Linked DNA regions of Homo sapiens: all the other regions are linked to region 3. The links are contacts of gene promoters, found by promoter capture Hi-C in blood cells and fetal thymus (Javierre and others, 2016). All regions are on one chromosome and are shown on one strand. The core of a region is centred on a gene start or on the middle of the fragment in contact, and the rest is flanking DNA. Distances in the headings are between cores, read along the strand shown. Region 1 overlaps FXYD5 (FXYD domain containing ion transport regulator 5). Region 2 holds the start of APLP1 (amyloid beta precursor like protein 1). Region 3 holds the start of DMKN (dermokine). Region 4 has its middle 30 kb from the start of FXYD5. Region 5 holds the start of NPHS1 (NPHS1 adhesion molecule, nephrin). Region 6 has its middle 1.8 kb from the start of FXYD1. Region 7 overlaps NPHS1 (NPHS1 adhesion molecule, nephrin).

Region 1 (3,250 bases), core at 312-2,811, 350 kb after region 3:
ATAATTTATGCATTCACTTATCTATTCAGACATTTATCATGTGCCCACCCTCTGCCTGGCTTGAAGTCATTTACTTTCCCATCACGTCTTTACTGAGAACTATTCTGTGCTGGGCTGTACTCCAGGTGCTGGAAATACACAGTGAACAGAAAATAGCCTGTTTCCAGTCTGGGGAGGCAGTTACTAACCAGATGGCTTGAGGGTCTGGGGGTCTGTCTGGACGTCTGTGCTTGGGGATGGTCTCTCAGAGAGCGTCGTGGTGTCATCAGTGGGATGAGCTGAGAGAGTGGCCAGATCAGTGGAGGGCAGGAGTGAGCCATGGAGGCAGAAACAAGGGATATTACTGAGAGTCTGCATCTGGAAGAAACCCCTCTCCCACATCTACACAGCTGGTGTGCAGGGTCAGGCATCCCCCCTACTCCACACCTAGAGGCAATAAGTAATGACAGGCATTGAAATGCTGAAATAAGCACATAGCCCCGGTTGCGACTATCTGATCTGCCTCAATCCCCGAGGGACTCCAGACCCCTCTCCTAGGACCTTCTGGCCCACACTATAATCCAGGAGATAAAGGAACGAAAGGGCAACACCTGCCAAGGACTCTGACCCAGCTACATAGTCTGGAGAAACTTGTAAAACATTCTGAATATTGGCTGGGTGCAGTGGCTCATGTCTGTAAACCCCAGCACTTTGGGAGACTGAGGCGGGCAGATCACCTGAAGCCAAGAGCTCAAGACCAGTCTGGCCAACATGGTGAAACCCCGCCTCTACTAAAAATACAAAAATTAACTGGGCCTGGTGGCACACACCTGTAATCCCAGATACTTGGGAGGCTGAGGCAGGAGAATTGCCTGAACTCGGGAGGTGGAGATTGCAGTGAGCCAAGATTTCGCCACTGCACTCCAGTCTGGGCAACAGAGCAACACTCTGTCTCAAAAACAACAACAACAACAAAACTATTCTGAATATCACCTCTGCCCCCAGACCGAAAATACCAAAGGATTCTTCTCTTGAAAAAAAAAAAAAAATCAGTACCTCCAAAGAAAAGGCCTCCCCCAAGCACTGAGAAGTGCCCCCACACCACATCGGAGGCCTCAACAAGAAGCCAGCAGACAGAGAAGCTCCCTCGTGAAACCCAAGTTCCCTGGAATTATCTCAGTGCCCCACACCCTAAATAGGAACTGGCAACCAAGGATTACAAGATATTCAGGGAATGCATTGCCCAGAGGAAGGTATAAGCCAGATCCACGGCAGAGACCACAGGAATGCGAAGGACAGCCATACTGGTGTGTGGTGCTCATGCACCCTGGGGTGAGACAGTCTGGACTCAAATTCCGGTTCTGCCACTCTTGGCTGTATTGCCTAGGGCAAGCTGAGTAACCTCTCTGGGCCTCAGTTCCTTTTCCTGTAAAATGGGAGTAATGACAGTTCCCACCACACAGGATGATCACAAGCATCAAATGACTGAATACACAGAAGCTTAGCACAGTGCCCAGCATGAACAAGCTCTCAGCAAAAGTCAGCCATTGCTATTACTGTCTGCTCAGCACTCTTCCTCCTTCTGGAACAGCTCTCCCTTTCTTTGTGGGAAGACATTGCCCTCCCTTCCCCAGTTATAACCCAGGCTACAAAAGGAAGCTTGTGACCTCAGTCTGGTCCTTCCCTGAGACCTTTGAAATCCCAAGTAGGGATATTGAGTGACAGCTAGGTACTATAGACTGAATTCTATCCACCCCACCAAATTCCATGTGATGGTATTTTGGAGCGAGGGCCTTTGGGAGGTAATTAGGGTTAGATAGGATCATGAGGGTGGGGCCCTCATGATGGGATTAGTGCCCTTATAAGAAGACACCAGAGAGCTTGCTTTCAAGCTCACAAGCCCACCCACACATGGAGAGGACATGGTGAAGACAGAGCAAGAGAATGGCTGTCTGTGACCCAAGGGGAGCCCTCGACAGACACCAACCCTTCTGGCACCTTGATCTTGGACTTCCCATCTCCAGAACCGGGAGAAATGAATTCCTATTGTTTAAGCCATCCAGTCTGTGGTATTTTGTTATCGTAACCTGAGCAGATTAAAACCCTAGGTGAAGTCTGGAAGTTTTGAGCTAGGAGGCTCAAATAACATGAGCCATTTCCTTCCTAGGTGGAAGAGAAGCAAAGATAGAGGAGGAAGAGAGGCCCTGGGGGCTTTCATGCCCAGCCTCTAGGCAACCCAGAGGCTCAGCAGTGACAGCCATTTGTCCTTGATGAATTTCTGTCACATATATCCAGGAACATGGACCAATACATAGAGCAACTCAGGTCAGCAAAGACTCAGTAAATTAATGCAGTGATGTGAGAATGCTTTATCATTGATAAGTGTGGACACAGCTGCTATCCCCCACCCCTACAGGTGCACTTTTGTACAAACTAGAAAAGTTCCCTTCTGTAAAGCACTTTATTTCCATCCATTGTAGGATTGTTTTAATAGATAGATTCTGTAAGAATGAGATGCTTTGCTGCTATCACTAGAAAACTGGAACAATTATAAAGACCGACAAAGGGAATGGCATTGCCCGAGAGGTGGTGCTCTCGTTCAGTACCCAGTCTGCACAACTGTACATGTCTCTCTGGGAGTGGCCTACTCTACAACACTTTCCAGTGTGGGGCTGCCCCTCAAATAAGGATCATCACGCAGGCATTAGAGGCGATCTGTTGCCTTATCTCAGCTCAGTCTCCTTTCCCACACCTTCTGGTAATACTAACTCACTTGTCCAAAGGAAAATCCCCTCTTCCCTGACTCTTGGTCTATGTGGTTCAGGCATGGCTGGCTGAGCCTCTTCTCTAGCCCCAGGGTGGGGCACAAGACTCAGGCCTGACCAATGAGAGCAGCTCATTTCTCAGGCTCTCATTGGTTCAGACATGAGCATGTGACTCCAGCTGAACCAATGAGAGTCAATTCTAGGCCTCAGGCTAGAAATAATGGGAAAGATTTTGTTCTCTAGCCACCACGTATGTGACCTAAAGTTAGAACTATGGGACCATCTCTGCCATCAAGAGGGGAGAAGTTAGTAGAGAATGAAGACAACAGAACCAAGAGAGGGAACAAAGCACTCATGACAGTGCTTACTCGCCTTGATCCAGCTATGCCTGAAGTTGGCTACTTCTGGACTTTCCAGAACTTATATAGCCAATCATTCTTTTGTGTGTGTGTGTGTGTGTGTGTGTGTTTAAGGTGAATTTTCTATATTTTGCAACTGAAAAGCTC
Region 2 (2,968 bases), core at 86-2,585, 350 kb before region 3:
AGCCTCCACGCCTTAGATCGCGCAGCACCCTGGACCACGCCTTTTTCAAGTCTAGCTTTCTATGGGCGGCCCCGCCTCTCCCGTTCGGCCCCGCCCACCTGTCTGCAGTACTCCAGCACGCGCTGCGGGTCCCGGAGACAGCGTCGAGAGCGCTGTGGGTCTGGTTCCCAGCGGCCGGTGCGCAGGTCCCGGTGAAGGGTTAGGCGCCCGCATAGTCCAGCCACCTGGGCCGACCCCGGGGCCTGGATGGAAGTGGAAAGGACAGTGAGGGCTCGGGGGGCGTTGGCATGAGGGTCCCCTGGTTCTTTGCTCCCTAGGACCGAGACCCCCAGCACCAGCCCCCTCCCCCAAGCACCGCACACCGCCTCCATGGAGGCACCGTTCCCTGGGAAACAGCTCCCGTAGGGCGGGGGCGCCCCAGCGCTCCCGTTGCTATGGCGACCTGGGTCCCCCGGGATTCTTTCTGCCTTGTTGCCGCGGAGACAGACTCCGCCCCCACCCCAGCGCAGCCGCTCTGGAGCCCGAAGGGGTTAAACCTGAATCGCGGAGGAGGAGGCCAGAACCCAGGAGTTCTGGCCCCTCCTCCCTCCATCCCTTGCTCAGGCTCCCGTTGCAGGATGCAAAGCTGACAAGGCCTGGCTTCAGGGGCCTACAGTCCTGGACACCAGGTCCTTGAGGACTGGAGAGCTACATCTGGTTGGGGTGGGTGGTGACTGAAGGACTGGACTCCTGGGTCCTGGGAGGCTGCAAGGGCCTCCATATGGGTCCAGAGAATACAAGGGGTCTGGATTATTGGATCTAAATGCCTCGCTGCTTGGTGGGTCCTATGTCCAGGCGGGAGGGGGTTGGGGCCGAGTCACCTGGGTCTGGAGAGGGGGCTGGACTTCTGGGACCAGGGGCTCTGAATAGACCAGTTCCTATGCTCGAGATGGGAGGGGGCTGGGACGTCGCATGATGGGGGAGCTGGGGCCTGGAACCCTGGGTTCATAAATGTGATTGGGGGCGCCTGGGGGCTGACCACCTGGCTGGAAAGACCGCGCTTTCTGCCCTGGACATGTCCGCGCCGGCGTCCAGAGACCCGGTCCCGCCCCTTCCCCCATCCCCCAGGACCCGGCCCGGCCTCACCTCGGCCGCGCCGGGGCTCCCACCGGCCAGGCTCCCGATGGCGGGCTGCGCGCGCAGAAGCAGCAGCAATAGTGGCAGCAGCAGCGGCAGCGGCGGCTGGCCCGGGCGGCGACTTAGACCGCGAGCAGCGGGGCTGGCGGGCCCCATGTCCCGGCCCTTGCGCCCTCACGTCCCCTGCACTCCCGCCCGGCCCGGCCCCAGCGGTGACAGGAGCTCCCAGCGCCACCGCCGCCACCTCCTCCTCCCGCCGCCCCCGGGCTGCGCCGGCGCCGCCAGCCCCGCCCCGCGCCGGCCCCGCCTTCCTGGTCAGGACAATAGCGTGGCGGCTTCGCGCAGAGTGGAGCAGCTCGGGAACCCCGGGCGGGAGCCTGCGCCAGGCCCCCGCCCCTCGAGATTCCAGGCGTCCCGCCCCATGAAGGGCCCAGCCAGGAGTCCGGCTATGGGCTCCGCCCGTTGTGGATTTTGAGTCCTCCCGCAGGACTCTCACCCTCTTTAGACCCAGACACTCACAGTTTTGTCCTTTTCCAAGGATGCAAGCATCAGAGACCCCCATCCCCTAGTACATTCCTCTGTTGAGGGCTCAGGAATACAGGCCTCCAAAATGTCCCCAGTCAAGAAGGCAGCAGTTGAGACCTAGTCCCTTCCTCTTTCAGATCCAGAAGTCTGGGCACCTTCTCTCTCAGGACCAGAGACCAAGCCCCCAGCCCATTCTCCTTCAGACCCAGGAGTTCACTCTTCTTGCTCTGCTTCCCAAGGGTCCCAGGGGCCTGGACCTTTAACTCCTAGCTCAAGGATCCATGAACCAAAGCCCCCAGGACCTTTCTTTAAGGATCATCCAAGCAGGCACCAGCACCATGCCCACTGTGGATGCAGCACCTCAGGATTAGGGTCTGGATCTCCACGCTTGCTGTAAGGACCAGGGGATTGCCATTTTCCTACCCATAGTCTCCCCTTCCCTGCTCCACTTCAGGGCTCACTTGTTTGTCTCCTCTAATGAGAGTTAGAATTCAGTCTTCCCCAGGACCCCTGGGGCAGCCCTGTCACTTGTGTGCAACTGTGTGGACATCTATGCGTGTGTCTGTGCATACATGCCTATGTGTGTGTCTTTTCTGTTTGCAACTCATGTGTGTGTGTGCGTGTGTGTGTGTGTGTGTGTGTGTGTGAAGATGTATATTAAAAGAGCCCATGGCTGGGCACAGTGGCTCATGCCTGTAATCCCAGCACATTGGGAGGCCTAGGTGGGCGGATCACTTGAGGTCAGGAGTTTGAGACCAGCCTGGCCAACATGGTGAAACCCTGTCTACAAACAAATACAAAAATTAGCTGGGTGTGGTGGCATGCACCTGTAGTCCCAGCTACTTGGGAGGCTGAGGTGGAAGGATGGCTTGAGCCCAGGATGCAGAGGTAGCAGTGGGCTGAGATCATGCCACTGCACTCCAATGTGGGCCATAGAGCCAGATCTTGTCTCAAGAAAAAAAAAAAAAGAGCCTAGAGTGCTTTGCAGGTAGCAAGAGGCTGAGAGGTGGCTCACAGTTTTACTCCTACAGCCACCTCATAGGCTAGGGTAGAGGAGGGACCTTGGGACAGGTCTAAGGGACCCCTTCCTTGGTGGAGAGTGATAATGCCAGTAGACTCCCTAAGACACACTTGCCTCTTTGACTTTTTTTTATTATTAAACATAAATATTTTTATCCCAATATTTTGCCCCAACAGTGGTAATTCTCACTGTATCCCCACTCCTTGGGTCCAAGTCTTTCTGAGTCTTTAAGGAAAGTAAAATCAAGATGGTGGCCATCTTGGGTTCCTAGGGAGTATATGGCCATCTTGGCTGCATTTCCATTGG
Region 3 (3,143 bases), core at 623-3,122:
GGCTCACGCCTGTAATCCCAGCACTTTGGGAGGCCGAGGCAGGCAGATCACGAGGTCAGGAGTTCACGACCAGCCTGGCCAACATGGTGAAACCCTGTCTCTACTAAAAACACAAAAATTAGCCCAGCGTGGGATTACAGGCCCAGCATGCGCCTGTAATCCCAGCTACTTGGGAGGCTGAGGCAGGATAATCACTTGAACCTGGGAGGCGGAGGTTGCAGTGAGCCAAGATCGTGCCATTGCACTTCAGCCTGGGCAACAGAGTAAGACTCTGTCTCAAAAAGAAAAAAAAAATTAGCTGGGTGTGCTGGTGTGCATCTATAGTCCCAGCTACTTGGGAGACTGAGACAGGAGGATCGCTTGAGCCCAGGAGGTCGATGCTGCAGTGAGCTACAATTGTGCCAGTGTACTCCAGCCTGGGCAAGACCCTGTCTCTAGAAAAAAAGAACCATCTCCCAGAGTTGTATAATTCTTAAACTGCTTGTGCTTAGTCCAATGCTGGGTACATACAGAACCGCTGATAAGCTGGAGCTGTAATTATTATTATTATTATTATTATTATTACCACCATCGCTATTATCATCATTAACGAGTCAGAGATGGAATAACAGGGAAGTAGGAGCTGAGGAGGACAGATGGGGATAGTGTTTACAAGGTAAGAAGTGTTGGATGTTATAAGCTGGGGTGCGGATATTGGGGTGGAGAGAAGAGAGAGACTGACTGAGAGACATTGAGAAAGGCTGATGGAAACTGGCCCCTCCTAACTGGGCGATGAACCCCAGTGATACGAAACAGTGGGAGGCCCTGTGGCCCCTGGGAATAGAGAAGCAGCCACACTTGCTGGGCAGGGGTGAGGCGGGGGGAGGCTCCCAGGTTCTGTATCCCGAGCTGGGACTGGGGAGAGGGCCGTGGCTCTCACGGATGGCTCCTGACCTTGCGCTACCCTCTTCTCGCTTGCCATTGCTGCCCTGGCCCCTGGCCTGGGGGATGGGTGGGGTGAGCTGGCCCAGTCCCGCCCCTCATAGGCGCTTATACTCACACGTGCCCCTCTAGGGCTGCGTAAACAGGATGGGTGCCTGGGTCAGCGGCTCCCTCCCTTGGCCTTCCCTCCCACTCGTTCCCTGGGGGTGGCTGGCGCGCCTGGCTGCCCTGCTCCGCGCCCAGCTTTCTCAGCCGGGAGCAGCCTGAACGCTGAGACACCCTGCTGACCACTCAAAGGGCTATGGCCACCTCCTTCCCCGACACCGAGGGTCCCCCCGGGGGCTCTCCCCAGAATCTCAGAAACTGACACGCAGCCCCGTGTTTGCCAGTCTCTCTCTGTGGGCTGGAAGGTGTGGAGGAACAAGAAGGCAGTCACCTGTAGGTGGCAATGCGGGAGGGGAGAGGGAGAGGAGAGGCTGAGGTGCTGAAACCGAGAAAGGCCAGGCCGAGGACGGGCAATGCCTGTCACTCTGGAGCCCCTGAGCCAGGCTGGCTGAGCCTGGGTGGGTCCTGTCCCCTGGGGCTTCCCTGTCCTTACTCCTTTGGTGGGGTCCTGCCAGTAACTCCTCTCTTCTAAGTCTGCCCCCACCCCACCGCCTCCAGGAGCCAACGACAACCTGTCTCCTTAGATGCCCCTGCCCCCACCCAGCTCCCCGAATGCCTGGGGTTGGGAAATGGGAGCACTTTTGCATCACCTCATCCATTTCTCCCTCCCTCCCTGATGCGGCTCACTCTCTGTTTCGACAGAGACTCTCAGACTCACAATAACAGCTGATTACCCTATTGGTGGCTGGGCCCTGAGTCACTGCGGGGAGGGACCTCAGGTTGCCCAGCCCTGTCACCTTCTCCCAACCTAGAGTATAAGGAGTAGTGACAGGGAGGTGGACTCTGAGAAGCCCAGGCAGTTGAGGACAGGAGAGAGAAGGCTGCAGACCCAGAGGGAGGGAGGACAGGGAGTCGGAAGGAGGAGGACAGAGGAGGGCACAGAGACGCAGAGCAAGGGCGGCAAGGAGGAGACCCTGGTGGGAGGAAGACACTCTGGAGAGAGAGGGGGCTGGGCAGAGATGAAGTTCCAGGGGCCCCTGGCCTGCCTCCTGCTGGCCCTCTGCCTGGGCAGTGGGGAGGCTGGCCCCCTGCAGAGCGGAGAGGAAAGCACTGGGACAAATATTGGGGAGGCCCTTGGACATGGCCTGGGAGACGCCCTGAGCGAAGGGGTGGGAAAGGCCATTGGCAAAGAGGCCGGAGGGGCAGCTGGCTCTAAAGTCAGTGAGGCCCTTGGCCAAGGGACCAGAGAAGCAGTTGGCACTGGAGTCAGGCAGGTTCCAGGCTTTGGCGTAGCAGATGCTTTGGGCAACAGGGTCGGGGAAGCAGCCCATGCTCTGGGAAACACTGGGCACGAGATTGGCAGACAGGCAGAAGATGTCATTCGACACGGAGCAGATGCTGTCCGCGGCTCCTGGCAGGGGGTGCCTGGCCACAATGGTGCTTGGGTGAGTGGCTGTGGGGCTGCATGTGGAAATGGGAGGCTGTGGGCTGCTGGGCTGAGATTCTTGGGAAACGGTTGAAAGGATGGATGGATCTCTTACTTGCAGGCTTCTGGGGCAGCTTCCTTCTATGTTCTGCCCCCCTCCTATGCCACCCTGGAGTCCCTCTGCCTGTCTCTCTCCTGGTCTCTTTATGATTTGCCCTGGCTCTTCTCTACCAGGGTCAGAGATGGTCCCACTAAGTGCAGGTATGTTGTTCTTGCAGGAAACTTCTGGAGGCCATGGCATCTTTGGCTCTCAAGGTGGCCTTGGAGGCCAGGGCCAGGGCAATCCTGGAGGTCTGGGGACTCCGTGGGTCCACGGATACCCCGGAAACTCAGCAGGCAGCTTTGGAATGAATCCTCAGGGAGCTCCCTGGGGTCAAGGAGGCAATGGAGGGCCACCAAACTTTGGGACCAACACTCAGGTAAAGTCACCCCCAGACCTGCTACCTGCCACCTCCCTCCCTCCAAGCCCACATGCTCCGCGTGCCTCCCTGGTCCCTCTGGATCCTACTCTCAGTCTCACCCTCTCTGCAGGGAGCTGTGGCCCAGCCTGGCTATGGTTCAGTGAGAGCCAGCAACCAGAATGAAGGGGTAAGAGGAAGGGGCTGGGAACAAATGAAGAAGCCACTGGGTG
Region 4 (3,139 bases), core at 238-2,737, 330 kb after region 3:
TCTACTAAAAATACAAAAAATTAGCTGGGCGTGGTGGCGGGCACCTGTAGTCCCAGCTACTCGGGAGGCTGAGGCAGGAGAAAGGCGTAAACCCGGGAGGCCAAGTTTGCAGTGAGCCGTGATCATGCCACTGCACTCCAGCCTGGGTGACAGAGCAAGACTCTCTCTCAAAAAAAAAAAATGTTTTTAAATTGATCGTGATGATGGCTGTACATATCTATGGATATACTAAAAACCATTGACTTGTACATGATTTTTAAAAATTTTTAATTGCTGTGGGTACATCATAGGTGTATTTATTTATGGAGAACATGAGATGTTTTGATACAGGCATGCAATGTGAAATAATCAGATCGGCTTGTATGCTTTAAATGTGTGAACTGTATGGCATGTGAATTGTATGGTAAGCGAATTCTATTACAAAAATTAAAAAATTAAAATAAGAAAAAAGAGTTGCCCTTTCCATGACAGGAACAGTTCAATGTGGCTGGGCGCAGTGGCTCACACCTGTAATCCCAACATTTTGGGAGGCTGCGATGGGTGGAACACCTGAGGTCAGCAGTTTGAGACCAGCCTGGCCAACATGATGAAACCCTGTCTTCACTAAAAATATGAAAATTAGCTGGGTGTGGTGATGGATGCCTATAATCCCAGCTACTCAGGAGGCTGAGGCAGGAGAATCTCTTGAACCTGGGAGGTGGAGGTTGCAATGAGCCGAGATTGTTCCATTGCACTCAAGCCTAGGTGACAAGAGCGAGACTCTGTCTCAAAAAAGAAAAGAAAATTAAAAAAGAGACAGTTCGACGTAATTAATTAGCCATCAGCAGACTGGTTGATTGTCCTGAGGAATGGTGCAATAAATCATTGCTAATTATAGTCATCCTACAGTGCTAAGGAATGCTGGAAGTTATTTTTCCTATCTAGCTGTAATTGTGTATCCATTTGCCAACATCTTCCTATCCCCTTCAACCCCTATCCAGCCTCTAGTAACCACTATTACATTCTCTACTTCTATGATATCAACTTTCTTAGCTTCCACATATGAATGAGAATATGTGGTATTTATCTTCCCATGCTTGGCTTAATTCACCTAACATAATGTCTTACAGGCTCATTAATGTTGCCACAAATGACAAGATTTCATTATTTTTACGGTGGAATAGTATTCCATTGTGTATCTGTACCACATTTTCTTTATCCATTCATCTCTTGAAAAACACTTACGTTGATTCCATATCTTGGCTATTGAGAATGGTGCTGCAAGTCTGCCAGACTCAGAACTTACCCACCTAGACAGATCAAGCAAGAGTTTAGTAGGCTCCCCCATCTATTTCATTTCGAGGCATACCATGATAAAGTAGTGAATGCCAAAGGTCTCTTTGAGTCACATTATTCTTATTACTATTTTGACTTCACTATCAACTATAGTAACCATGCTTACCTTATCTTTGGCATATAAGTACAGATATCTCTTTGACATACTCATTTCCTGTCCTCTGAATATATACCCTAGAGTGTATTGCTGGATCATAGATAGGATAGTTCTATTTTTAGGTGTTTTTAAGGAGCCTCCATACTGTTTTCCAGTATGATTGTACTAATTTACATTTCCACCAACAGTGTATAAGAGTTCCTTTTCCTCTGCATCCTTGCCAGCTTTTGTTATTTTTTCTCTTTGATAACAGCCATTCTAAGTGGAGTGAGATGATATCTTATTGTAGTATCAATTTGCATTTGCCAGATGATTAATGATGTTGAATATTTTTCATATATACTTGTTGGTCATTTGTATGTCTTCTTTTGAGAAATGCCTATTCAGATAATTTGCTGATTTACTACTCCTTGAGGATTTCTTGTAAGGCTACTTTAGTGGTAATAAATTCCCTCAGTTTTTGCTTGTCTGGGAAAGACTTTATGACTCCTTCATTTCTAAAGGATAGATTTGCTGTTACAGTATTCTTGGCTGCCAGGTTTTTTTCTTTCATCACTTAGAATATATCATCCCATTCGCTCCTGTAATATAAGGTTTCTGCTGAGAAGTCTTCTATTAGTCTAATGGGGATTCCCTTATATGTGACTTGATGCTTTTCTCTTGCTGTTTTTCAAATTCCCTCATGGTCTTCAACTTTTGACAGTTTGACCAGAATGTGCTACAGAGAGGACCTTTTTGGGTTGAATCTATTTGGGGACTTTTGAGCATCCTGAATCTGGATGTCCATACCTTTCCCGAGACTTTGGAAGTTCTCAGCTATTACTTTATTACATAGGATTTCTGTGTCTTTTCTCATCTCTTTTCCTTTTGGAAATTGGAATATCTGTTTGCTTAACAATGTCCCATAGGTCTTGTAGGCTTCCTTCATTCTTTTTTATTTTATTTTTTGTCTGATTGAGTTATTTCAAAAGAGACCTGTCTTCAAGTTTAGAAATTCTTTCTTCTGCTTGACCTAGTTTGTTGTTGAAGCTCTCAATTATATTTTAAATTTCATTTATTGGCCGGGATCGGTGGCTCACGCCTGTAATTCTAGCACTTTGGGAGGCTGAGGTGGGCAGATCACCAGGTCAGGAGTTCGAGACCAGCCTGGCCAACATGGCGAAACCCCGTCTCTACTAAAAATACAAAAATTAGCTGGGCATGGTGGCAGGGGCCTGTAATCCCAGCTACTCAGTAGGTTGGGGCAGAAGAATTGCTTGAACCTGGGAGGCAGAGGTTGCAGTGAGCCAAGATCATGCCATTGCACTCCAGCCTGGGTGACAAGAGCAAGACTCTGTTTCAAAAAAAAAAAAAAAAAAATCATTTATTAAGTCTTCAGCTCCAAAATTTATGTGTTTTTTTTTATGATATCCATCTCTTTACTGATTTTTTTTCATTCTGATCATGAACTGTTTTCCTGATTTTTTTGGGCGGGGGATGTTGTCTCACTCTGTTGCCCAGGCTGGAGTACGGTGGCACGACCTTGGCTCACTGCAACCTCCGCCTCCAGGGTTCAAACGATTCTTCTGCCTCAGCCTCCCAAGTAGCTGGGACTATAGGCATGCACCATCATGCCTGGCTAGTTTTTGTATTTTTAGTAGAGACATGGTTTTGCCATGTTGGCCAGGATGCTCTCAAATTCCTGACTTCAGGTGATCCACCCACCTC
Region 5 (3,300 bases), core at 801-3,300, 340 kb before region 3:
AGAGCTGGGGGCCCAGCTGGCTGCTCCCCTGCTGAGCTGGGAGACCACCTTGATCTGACTTCTCCCATCTTCCCAGCCTAAGCCAGGCCCTGGGGTCACGGAGGCTGGGGAGGCACCGAGGAACGCGCCTGGCATGTGCTGACAGGGGATTTTATGCTCCAGCTGGGCCAGCTGGGAGGAGCCTGCTGGGCAGAGGCCAGAGCTGGGGGCTCTGGAAGGTACCTGGGGGAGGTTGCACTGTGAGAATGAGCTCAAGCTGGGTCAGAGAGCAGGGCTGACTCTGCCAGTGCCTGCATCAGCCTCATCGCTCTCCTAGGCTCCTGGCCTGCTGGACTCTGGGCTGCAGGTCCTTCTTGAAAGGCTGTGAGTAGTGAGACAAGGAGCAGGAGTGAGGGGTGGCAGGAGAGAAGATAGAGATTGAGAGAGAGAGAGAGAGAGAGACAGAGAGAGAGGAAGAGACAGAGACAAAAGGAGAGAGAACGGCTTAGACAAGGAGAGAAAGATGGAAAGATAAAGAGACTGGGCGCAGTGGCTCACGCCTGTAATCCCAACACTTGGGGAGGCCAAGGTGGGAGGATGGCTTGAAGGAAAGAGTCTGAGATCAACCTGGCCAACATAGTGAGACCCCGTCTCTAAAAAAAAAAAAAAGAAAAAAAAAAGAAAAAAGAAAAAAAAGTTTTTTTAAAGAGACAGAGAAAGAGACTCAGAGATTGAGACTGAGAGCAAGACAGAGAGAGATACTCACAGGGAAGAGGGGAAGAGGAAAACGAGAAAGGGAGGAGAGTAACGGAAAGAGATAAAAAAGAAAAGCAGGTGGCAGAGACACACAGAGAGGGACCCAGAGAAAGCCAGACAGACGCAGGTGGCTGGCAGCGGGCGCTGTGGGGGTCACAGTAGGGGGACCTGTGATGGCCCTGGGGACGACGCTCAGGGCTTCTCTCCTGCTCCTGGGGCTGCTGACTGAAGGTGAGTGGGATCCCAGCCTTGTACCCAGCGCCAAGTGGCCCCCATTTCCCACTTACCTTCCCTAGACAAACCCTCTGCCCTTTCCTTGCACCGCGCTGTGTCCTCAGGCCTGGCGCAGTTGGCGATTCCTGCCTCCGTTCCCCGGGGCTTCTGGGCCCTGCCTGAAAACCTGACGGTGGTGGAGGGGGCCTCAGTGGAGCTGCGTTGTGGGGTCAGCACCCCTGGCAGTGCGGTGCAATGGGCCAAAGATGGGCTGCTCCTGGGCCCCGACCCCAGGATCCCAGGCTTCCCGAGGTACCGCCTGGAAGGGGACCCTGCTAGAGGTAAGGGATCAGAGCCTGAGACCCTCAGCCACCAGCGGAAGCTGCGGCCCTGACTTCCGGCTCCCCCTGCAGGTGAATTCCACCTGCACATCGAGGCCTGTGACCTCAGCGATGACGCGGAGTATGAGTGCCAGGTCGGCCGCTCTGAGATGGGGCCCGAGCTCGTGTCTCCCAGAGTGATCCTCTCCATCCTGGGTATGGGTGAGAGACGCCCAGGACCCATGAGTCTGGGCTTCAAGCCCTCCCCTACCCCGCAACCCGGAAGTCCAAGCCCCCAGCCTCTCCTCTCCCAGACTCTGGGTACCGAACTCCAATCTTCAAGTCCTTCTCAGTGCTGGAAGCTTACCCCAGACCCTTCTCTCACCAGTTCCTCCCAAGCTGCTCCTGCTGACCCCAGAGGCAGGCACCATGGTCACCTGGGTAGCTGGGCAGGAGTACGTGGTCAACTGTGTGTCTGGGGACGCGAAGCCAGCACCTGACATCACCATTCTCCTGAGTGAGTGTGGGTGAACTGGGTGGCAGGGGGCAGCATGAAGCCTCTGGAGTGGGAAGGGTGTGTGTTCCTGACCAGTACCCTTCTAAGGGCCCCAGAAAAGATGTCATCCCTGGGATGGGGACCCAGGAGAAGGTGTGGGGAGATGCTGAGGCCAGTGTGGGACCCAGTGGATGCGAGGGCACATCGAGGGCGGCAGCAACCAGCACAAGGCTGAGGCCCAGATAGAAATATGGGCAGTAGCGCTGGTGCAGACATGAGAAGCTGAGGGATAGGGTGCATGGTACAACCCAGCAAGGAGTTGAGAAGAGCGGGGAGGCCCAGGACCCAGCACTGAAGACTGCGGCATTCAGGCAGTCCAGAAAGTCGGGAGGGGATGCAGCTCTGCCCCAGGCCCTTTTCCTCTAGAACGAGGAGGGAGGGGGCATCGCACCCACCCTGAGGACTTCCAGGCCATGCTCCCCAGAATCTATCTTGCGGGGAGCCTGGAACCCCTCTAGCCCTCTTGCTGCCCCAAGGTGGACAGACAATATCTGACATCTCTGCAAACGTGAACGAGGGCTCCCAGCAGAAACTCTTCACTGTGGAGGCCACAGCCAGGTGTGGAAACTGAAACAACCCCCCAACCTTGACCCCTAATTTTCCCCATGGGAACCCCAGACCCCAGGGATGCAAGCATGAAGCTTGGGCTAGGTATGAACATCTGGGACCCAATTCTTCATCCTGACTCTCAAAGCTTCTTCATGGGGAACAGAGGTGGTGGCTCATGCCTGTAATCCCAGCACTTTGGGAGGCTGAGGTGGGCGGATCACCTGAGGTCAGGAGTTCAAGATCAGCTGGGTCAACATGGTGAAACCCTGTTTTCACTAAAAATACAAAAATTAGCCGGGTGTGGTGGCGCATGCCTGTACTCCCAGCTCCTCAGGGGGCTGAGGCAGGAGAATCACTTGAACCCAAGAAGTGGAGGTTGCAGTGAGCTGAGATTGTACCACTGCACTCCAGCCTGGGTGATAGAGCCAGATTCTGTCTCAAAAGACAAACAAACAAATAAACAAACAAAAAAACTTCATGGGAACCTCAGTTCTAGAGTCCCAAGCACTAAAGTTTTGGTCAGATGTGGGGCTCTCTAGGCTCCAATTCTCACTGTTCACCCCCAAAATCTCTCCCATGGAACCCTGGATCCCAGAGGAGATCAGCATGGGGACTTAGACCAGGTGTGGGGACCAGAGGTGACATCCCCACCTCTTCTCCCTGACTCCCCAAATTTCAGATGATGACTCTGACTCTATAACCCTGACTTCTCATCCCAGGGTGACACCCCGGAGCTCAGATAATAGGCAGTTGCTGGTCTGTGAGGCGTCTAGCCCAGCACTGGAGGCCCCCATCAAGGCCTCATTCACCGTGAATGTTCTGTGTAAGTGGAGAACTGGGCCAACTAGGGCGCTGAGGATGGGGAGCAGGCACTGGGGGGTGTGGGGGGATCACAGGGATTATGGAAATTCAGGCACTCAGAGAAAC
Region 6 (3,205 bases), core at 347-2,846, 380 kb after region 3:
AGCAGCAGGCAGCCAGCAGGCAGGCTGGAGAGGCTAGGAGGATTGTGGAGGACAGGGTTGTGAACACACACACACACAAACACACACGCCTCCAAGAGCTTTTGGGCTGAGGCGGCTGCCCCCTGGGAACTGGGTCCAGCCAGGGCCGAAGGTCACCCAGCCTGACTGCCCAGGAGCCCACTGACCCCCGATCCCAGTGCTCCGTGAGGTCCTTAACAGGGCTGTTTTAGAGGACGGGAGGGAGGTGTGTGTGTGTGTGTGTGTGTGCGCGCGCATGTGCGCTATCTGCTGTGGTGAGATCCCCAGAAATGCACCACACACACACACCCACACACAATCCCAAAGACCCAGATATACAGGTACAAAACCAGACAAAACCATGTATGTATGTACATCCATAGAAGCAGACACACACAGAATGACACACTGATAGAGAAACCCAAAGACCCGGACACACAGCCAACACCTTTTATGCCAGTCACAAAATACCAGAACAAGCACATTTATGTCTACACAGACCCACGCACGCTCATGTAGATGGATGGCCACACAGAGATACAGTCAAAGACATAGCCACATCACCATCTACACTCACAAACTGGCCACAAAAATGCATGTTTATGTGAAGACCCACCCACAAATGGCCATACAGAAACACACAAGTATGTGCACACCGCACATAAATGCATTCTAAGATGCATGGCCAAACATGGCCAGGTACGGTGGCTCACACCTGTACTCCCAGCACTTTGGGAGGCCAAGGCGGGAGGATCACTTGAGGCCAGGAGTTCAACACCAGCCTGGCCAACCCGACGAGAGCTCGTCTCTACTAAAAAAATATACAAAAATTAGCTGGGTGTGGTGGCGTGCGCCTGTAATCACGGCTACTCCGGAGGCTGAGGCAGGAGAGTCACTTGAGCCCGGGAGGCAGAGCTTGCAGTGAGCTGAGATCATGCCACTGCACTCTAGCCTGGGCAACAGAGCGAGACTCTGTCTCAAAAACAAAAACAAAACAAAAAAACCCCAAAGGTACAGACATGCAGCCAGCACTCCTACATGGTCCCAAAGATAGGAAGGCCAACAAGCTTGTGTACACACAGACAGATTTCCATGGGCACAGATACACAAGCAGAAACACCATCAAGGACAACCCGCCGCTCTCACACATACCCACAAAAGCAGAAACACACACACTGGTTCACACCCTATGCTTGAGCAAACAGGCACATGGTTGGCCACGGTGACAGATGCGCAGGCTGACACACTTGCATGTTCACACATTCCAAAACCACAGATATGTATTTAACCCCACACTTTCCTTCCCCTGAGCTCTTGTCGGGGACAACACACCTGGCGTCCCCATGGGCAGGCCAGGTTTACAGGTCCTGGTGACAGGGAAACCTGGAATGGCCCAGGCACTGCACTCCTGGTTGTGTGAACTTGAGCAGCTCTGTGCCTCATTTTCACATGCTCCAAAATGGAAAAATCACTAAGATCACGTGTATAATCCTGGACAGGGCTCAGAGGTCTCTGAACTTGACATTGTCTTATGATTAACTTCATTTTTTGTTTGTTTGTTTGAGACCGGGTCTTGCTCTGTCACCCAGGCTGAAGTGCAATGGCACAATCATAGCTCACTGTAGCCTCAACCTCATGGGCTCAAGTGATTCTCCCACCTCAGCTTCCTGAGTAGCTGGGACTATGGGCGTGCGACACCATGCCTGGCTAATTTTTTAATTTTTTGTACAGTCGGGGTTTCTCTATGTTGCCCAGGCTTGTCTTGAACTCCTGGCCCCAAGCGATCCTCCCACTTCAGCCTGCCAAAATGTGGGATTACAGAAATGAGCCACCGTGCCTGGCCTATTATTATTGTCCTTGTCATCCTCCTCCTTGTGAACTGGACTGCTGGGCTGGGCACCCTATGAGAGTGGGTTCAGATCCCTCTGTGCCCCTGGCACTCAGCTCTCCAACTTCACTTTCAGGGACCCTGTTTATCATACCCAATAGTCAGTGAAGGAAACTGAGAGCTGACGGGCATGGCTCAAACCACAAGCTGCTGGGGTCTGCTCCTCTAGGAGCTGGATCCGGAGCCCACCCCCAAGCTTGCCGACCACTGTGGGATGCCCACCTTGTGCTGAACCCCAAAAGGATGAGTTGCCTCCATCACCTGAGTCCTCTCCACAACTGGGAAGCGGGTGCCACGATTGTCCCCGTTTGACAGATGGGAAAACTGAGGCCACACAGGACTGGGCCTGGAACCCAGATCTGCATGACCTCCAAGCTGTTAAGCCCCCTTATCCTCCAACGAGGCTTCTGGGCGTGGGCGTCAGTGTCAAGAGAGGCTGCATGCATTCCTCAATCACAGGATGAGTCTCGTCCCCAGGCGATGAGGTGGTACAGCCTAGGGGTTAGGTTTAGAGCTGACTAGAGCCAGGAAACTAATCACATAACTTCCCTGTGCCTCAGTTTCCCCATCTGTAAAGCAGGGATAGCAGTACTGCCCATCTCACAGGGTGGCTGTGAAGGCTGAGTGAGTATAAACATTACTACTATTTCATCTTAGCTAACAAGTGTCATTTACTTATGTTTCTTATTTAGTGGACAGAATCTATCCAAATGACTAAAATTTAGTCCAGATTAAAACAACCAATTATCCATCTATCCATGAACTCTGATCTCCAAAGAAAGAATGCAAAATAACCTGGAGCCGGATGCCTGGGTTTGAATCCCGGCTGTGCCCTCAGCTGGGTAACCTAGAGTTCAGGTTCCCTGACCTCTGTCTCCACTTCCTCCAGCTGTAAAGTGGTGATGATGACAGCACTAACTTCAGAGGGCTTTGGCAAGATCAGAATGAGTTAATAGATGAGCTTTTAGGACAAGGCCAGGCTCAGAGTAGACGCTGAAGAAGGGGTGGCATCATCATCATCATCTTCACCATCATCATCATCTTCATCATCATCATGTCCTCGGGTTGGTGCTGTCCCCCAGTGGGTGTTGGCCACTAGAGGGTTAATTTCAGGGTAGGGGAGGGAGGCTAAGGGCTTGGGGCCGGGCAGAGGTCCTGCCGAGTATGACCACCAGAGGGAGCAGCTGGACGTGATCTGGCCCCACTGACAGCGCCCAACACACCCTCCTGTAGCCAGGGGAGGGGGCTGGCAGAGAGTGGCCAGGACGGGATGTCCCCAGCCCCCCCAGGGCCTCTCCT
Region 7 (3,018 bases), core at 494-2,993, 320 kb before region 3:
CCACACCTGGCTAATTGTTGTACTTTTTTAGTAGGGACGGGGTTTCACCATGTTGGCCAGGCTGGTCTCGAACTCCCGACCTCAAGTGATCTGCCTGCCTCAGCTTCCCAAAGTGCTGGGATAACAGGCATGAGCTACGGCACTCGGCATTTTTTTTTTTTATTTTTTTATTTTTTGAGATGGATTCTTGCTCTGTTTGTTGCCCAGGCTGGAGTGCAGTGGTGCGATCTCGGCTGACTGCTATCTCCACCTCCCGGCTTCCTCTCCTGCCTCAGCCTCCCGAGTAGCTGGGACTACAGGCACGTGCCAACACGCCCAGCTAATTTTTTGTATTTTTAGTAGAGATGAGGTTTCACCGCGTTAGCCAGGATGGTCTTTAACTCCTGACCTCATGATTCACCCACCTCAGCCTCCCAAAGTGCTGGGATTACAGGCGTGAGCCACTGCATCTGGCCAATTTTTTTTTTCTTAGATCTTCCTCTTGCCTGGAGTGATAAATTTTCTTCTCTTCCAAATTTAGTTTAATTCCGTAAGAATTAGCTCACTCCATGTCCTGTAAGAAGCCTGCATCAGTTAGCTTTTGCTGTATAATGAACCACCCCAAACATGGGTGCTTATAGCAACATTCTTCCTCATGATTCTGAGTCTGGCGGAACAGTGCTGGTCTGGGCTGGCTTAAATCATCTCTGCAGTCAGCTGGCAGCTCCACTGGACTGGGTGGTCTAGGGTTGCCCCCTTCCCACACTTCTGATAGTCATCTGGCTCTTGGTTGGAACAATGGAGATAACTGGGCGCGTGTCTCTTCTTGACTTTTTCACATGGAGGTGGTCACGGGGGTCAAAAGCAGCAATTTACTAGCTGATTCCGTCATAGTTGTGTCTCATTGGCCAAAGCAAGTCACATGGCTCAACACAGAGTCAGTGTGGAAAGGCCCCGCACTCAAGGATGTGACTACTGGGAGATGATTGCAACCATTTGGCAAAAAAATCCCCTTCAGAGCCCGAGAAAAAGGTTGCAAGTGACAGAAATGCAGCTGTTTTGTCAACACGAAAAAGAATGGCTTGGCTGGGCACAGTGGCTCATGCCTATAATCCCGGAACTTTGGGAGGCTGAGGCAGGTAGATCACTTGAGCCCAGACGTTGGAGACAAACCTGGGCAACATGGTGAAACCCCATCTCTATAAAACAAAAACAAAAAAAATTAGCCAGGCATGGCAGTGCATGCCTGCAGTCCCAGCTACTCAGGAGGCTGATGCGGGAGGATTGATTGAGCCCAGGAGGTTGAGCCTTCAATGAGCCGAGCTCACGCCACTGCACTGCAGCCTGGGCAACAGAGTTGAGACCCTGTCTCAAGAAAAAAAAGAAAAAGTCTTGGTATATGAAATAAAAAATTCCAAGTGTGGCCACTTTCAGGTGCTCAAAAATCTCACCAGCGATCTGTTTCTCACCCTCTCTCAACTTTGCCTTCATCTGTGGTGGCTTCTTTCTGAGTTTCTTCAATCAGAGGGGCAGAGAAGCCCTCCTCCACCTCCATCTTCTTGACAGCTAGTAGAATTGTCCTAAATGTTTTGTTAAAAACACACGTTGGGTCAAATGCCTGTGTCTAAACAATCACTGTGGAGAGAGGAATGGAGACTCTTATTTTCCAGGCCGGGCCATGTGCCCACTGTGGAGTCCTGCCTGAACCCAAGACTGAGATTGGGGAGTGGCTGTTCTCCCCAGGGGAAAAAAGTGCTATTAGTAGAAGACAGGGGAGATTGCCCGCCCAACAGATGCCTACTTAGAGGGGTTCAGCCTTGTCCTCAGGGATATAGCAGCCAAGTCAGCCTGATATTGGCTGGGATGGAAGTTGGTGGAAAGAAGTCATTTGAGGCTGGGCACGGTGGCTCGCGCCTATAATGCCAGCACTTTGGGACGCCAAGGTGGGCAGACCACTTGAAGCCAGGAGTTCAAGAACAGCCTGTCCAACATGGCGAAACTCCGTCTCTATTAAAAATACAAAAAAAAAAAAAATTAGCCGGGTGTGGTGGCATGCGCCTGTAATCCCAGCTACTTGGGAGGCTGAGGGAGAAGAATCGCTTGAACCCTGCAGGTGGAGGTTGCAGTGAGCCAAGATCATGCCACTGCACTCCAGCCTGGGTGAAAGAGTGAGACTCTTTTTTTTTTTTTTTTTTTTTTGAGACAGGGTCTCATTCTGTCACCCAGGCTGGAGTGCAGTAGCGTGATCTCGGCTCACTGCAACCTCTGCCTCCCCAGTTCAAGTGATTCCCCTGCCTCAGCCTCCCAAGTAACTGGGACTACAGGTGCCTGCCACCACACCCAGCTAATTTTTTGTATTTTAGTAGAGACAGGGTTTTACCATATCGGCCAGGCTGGTTTTGAACTCCTGACCTTGTGATCCAACCCCTCAGCCTCCCAGAGTGCTGGGATTATAGGCGTGAGCCACCGTGCCCAGCCAACTCCGTCTTAATTAAAAAACAAAATAAAATAAAGAAGTCCTTGAGATGGGATTTTTTTTTCAGAGGCAGGGTCTTGCTCTGCTGCCCAGGCTGGAGTGCAGTGGTGCTATCATAGCTCACTGGAGCCTTGACTTACCAGGTTCAAGCAATCCTCTTGCTTCAGTGTCCCGAGTAGCTGGGACTATAGACATGCACCACCATGCTGCTAAATTTTTAATTTTTTTTGTAAAGAATCAGCCTCACTATGTTGCCTAGGCTGGTCTTGAGCTCCTAGGCTCAAGCGATTCTCCCACCTTGACCTCCCAACATGCTGGGATTACAGGCATGTGCTGCAGCGCCTGACCTTGAGATAGAATTTGAAAGGCAAACAGAAGTTTGCTTGAGAAGAAAGGACATTTGAGGACAGACACTTAACTATTCCAAAGCTCTGAGGTGTGAATTTGCTTCAGTGATTCTGGAAACAGCTGGTGGTTGATTTGTGTGGCTGGACAGTCCAGTACCAGGGTCTAAGTTTGGTGGGCATGGCTGGAGGCGTGGGAAGAGGCTGGACCACAGAAAG

Evidence for each region. The method cuts DNA at HindIII sites, captures the fragments that hold promoters and counts their contacts. A CHiCAGO score of 5 or more calls a contact.
Region 1: a fragment that was not itself captured here is called in contact with the fragment with the promoter of DMKN in region 3 in 11 of 17 cell types (total B cells, naive B cells, monocytes and 8 more); the score reaches 11.2 in total B cells.
Region 2: the fragment with the promoter of APLP1 here is called in contact with the fragment with the promoter of DMKN in region 3 in 2 of 17 cell types (M2 macrophages and M1 macrophages); the score reaches 5.6 in M2 macrophages.
Region 4: a fragment that was not itself captured here is called in contact with the fragment with the promoter of DMKN in region 3 in 6 of 17 cell types (monocytes, total B cells, neutrophils and 3 more); the score reaches 11.1 in monocytes.
Region 5: a contact is called between a fragment that was not itself captured here and the fragment with the promoter of DMKN in region 3, in 2 of 17 cell types (M0 macrophages and M2 macrophages). The highest score is 7.6, in M0 macrophages.
Region 6: a contact is called between a fragment that was not itself captured here and the fragment with the promoter of DMKN in region 3, in 6 of 17 cell types (naive CD8 T cells, total B cells, naive CD4 T cells and 3 more). The highest score is 6.2, in naive CD8 T cells.
Region 7: a fragment that was not itself captured here is called in contact with the fragment with the promoter of DMKN in region 3 in 4 of 17 cell types (M1 macrophages, M0 macrophages, M2 macrophages and 1 more); the score reaches 7.4 in M1 macrophages.

The regions. Positions count from the first base shown.
Region 1 is chr19:35,161,184-35,164,433 of GRCh38, reverse strand. It overlaps FXYD5 (FXYD domain containing ion transport regulator 5), which reads right to left. Exons shown (of 9, transcript NM_014164.6): 6 at 189-278. Among named protein-coding and RNA genes, the nearest start is that of FXYD5, 8.1 kb to the right of the region's middle. The HindIII fragment of the contact is 159 bases long and covers 1,482-1,640 here.
Region 2 is chr19:35,866,941-35,869,908 of GRCh38, reverse strand. It overlaps APLP1 (amyloid beta precursor like protein 1), which reads right to left and starts at 1,335. Exons shown (of 17, transcript NM_001024807.3): 1 at 1,126-1,335; 2 at 99-242. The coding sequence starts at 1,272. LOC107985317 (a long non-coding RNA gene) reads left to right here and starts at 552. Exons shown (of 4, transcript XR_001753932.2): 1 at 552-817; 2 at 1,779-2,034. KIRREL2 (kirre like nephrin family adhesion molecule 2) reads right to left here. Exons shown (of 15, transcript NM_199180.4): 15 at 2,773-2,968. RefSeq lists silencers at 1,095-1,164, 1,255-1,514. The HindIII fragment of the contact is 13,044 bases long and covers 1-2,968 here.
Region 3 is chr19:35,512,378-35,515,520 of GRCh38, reverse strand. It overlaps DMKN (dermokine), which reads left to right and starts at 1,872. Exons shown (of 16, transcript NM_033317.5): 1 at 1,872-2,471; 2 at 2,731-2,931; 3 at 3,044-3,100. The coding sequence starts at 2,046. The HindIII fragment of the contact is 13,607 bases long and covers 1-3,143 here.
Region 4 is chr19:35,183,351-35,186,489 of GRCh38, reverse strand. No RefSeq gene overlaps it. Among named protein-coding and RNA genes, the nearest start is that of FXYD5, 30 kb to the right of the region's middle. The HindIII fragment of the contact is 8,299 bases long and covers 1-3,139 here.
Region 5 is chr19:35,849,446-35,852,745 of GRCh38, reverse strand. It overlaps NPHS1 (NPHS1 adhesion molecule, nephrin), which reads left to right and starts at 242. Exons shown (of 29, transcript NM_004646.4): 1 at 242-966; 2 at 1,074-1,289; 3 at 1,362-1,484; 4 at 1,657-1,785; 5 at 2,301-2,382; 6 at 3,093-3,196. The coding sequence starts at 909. It also overlaps a transcript of KIRREL2 not described here. RefSeq lists enhancers at 314-955, 956-1,596. The HindIII fragment of the contact is 835 bases long and covers 1,633-2,467 here.
Region 6 is chr19:35,135,437-35,138,641 of GRCh38, reverse strand. It overlaps a transcript of FXYD1 not described here. Among named protein-coding and RNA genes, the nearest start is that of FXYD1, 1.8 kb to the left of the region's middle. The HindIII fragment of the contact is 1,017 bases long and covers 1,088-2,104 here.
Region 7 is chr19:35,832,047-35,835,064 of GRCh38, reverse strand. All of the region lies in intron 23 of NPHS1 (NPHS1 adhesion molecule, nephrin), which reads left to right. Among named protein-coding and RNA genes, the nearest start is that of NPHS1, 19 kb to the left of the region's middle. The HindIII fragment of the contact is 4,977 bases long and covers 1-3,018 here.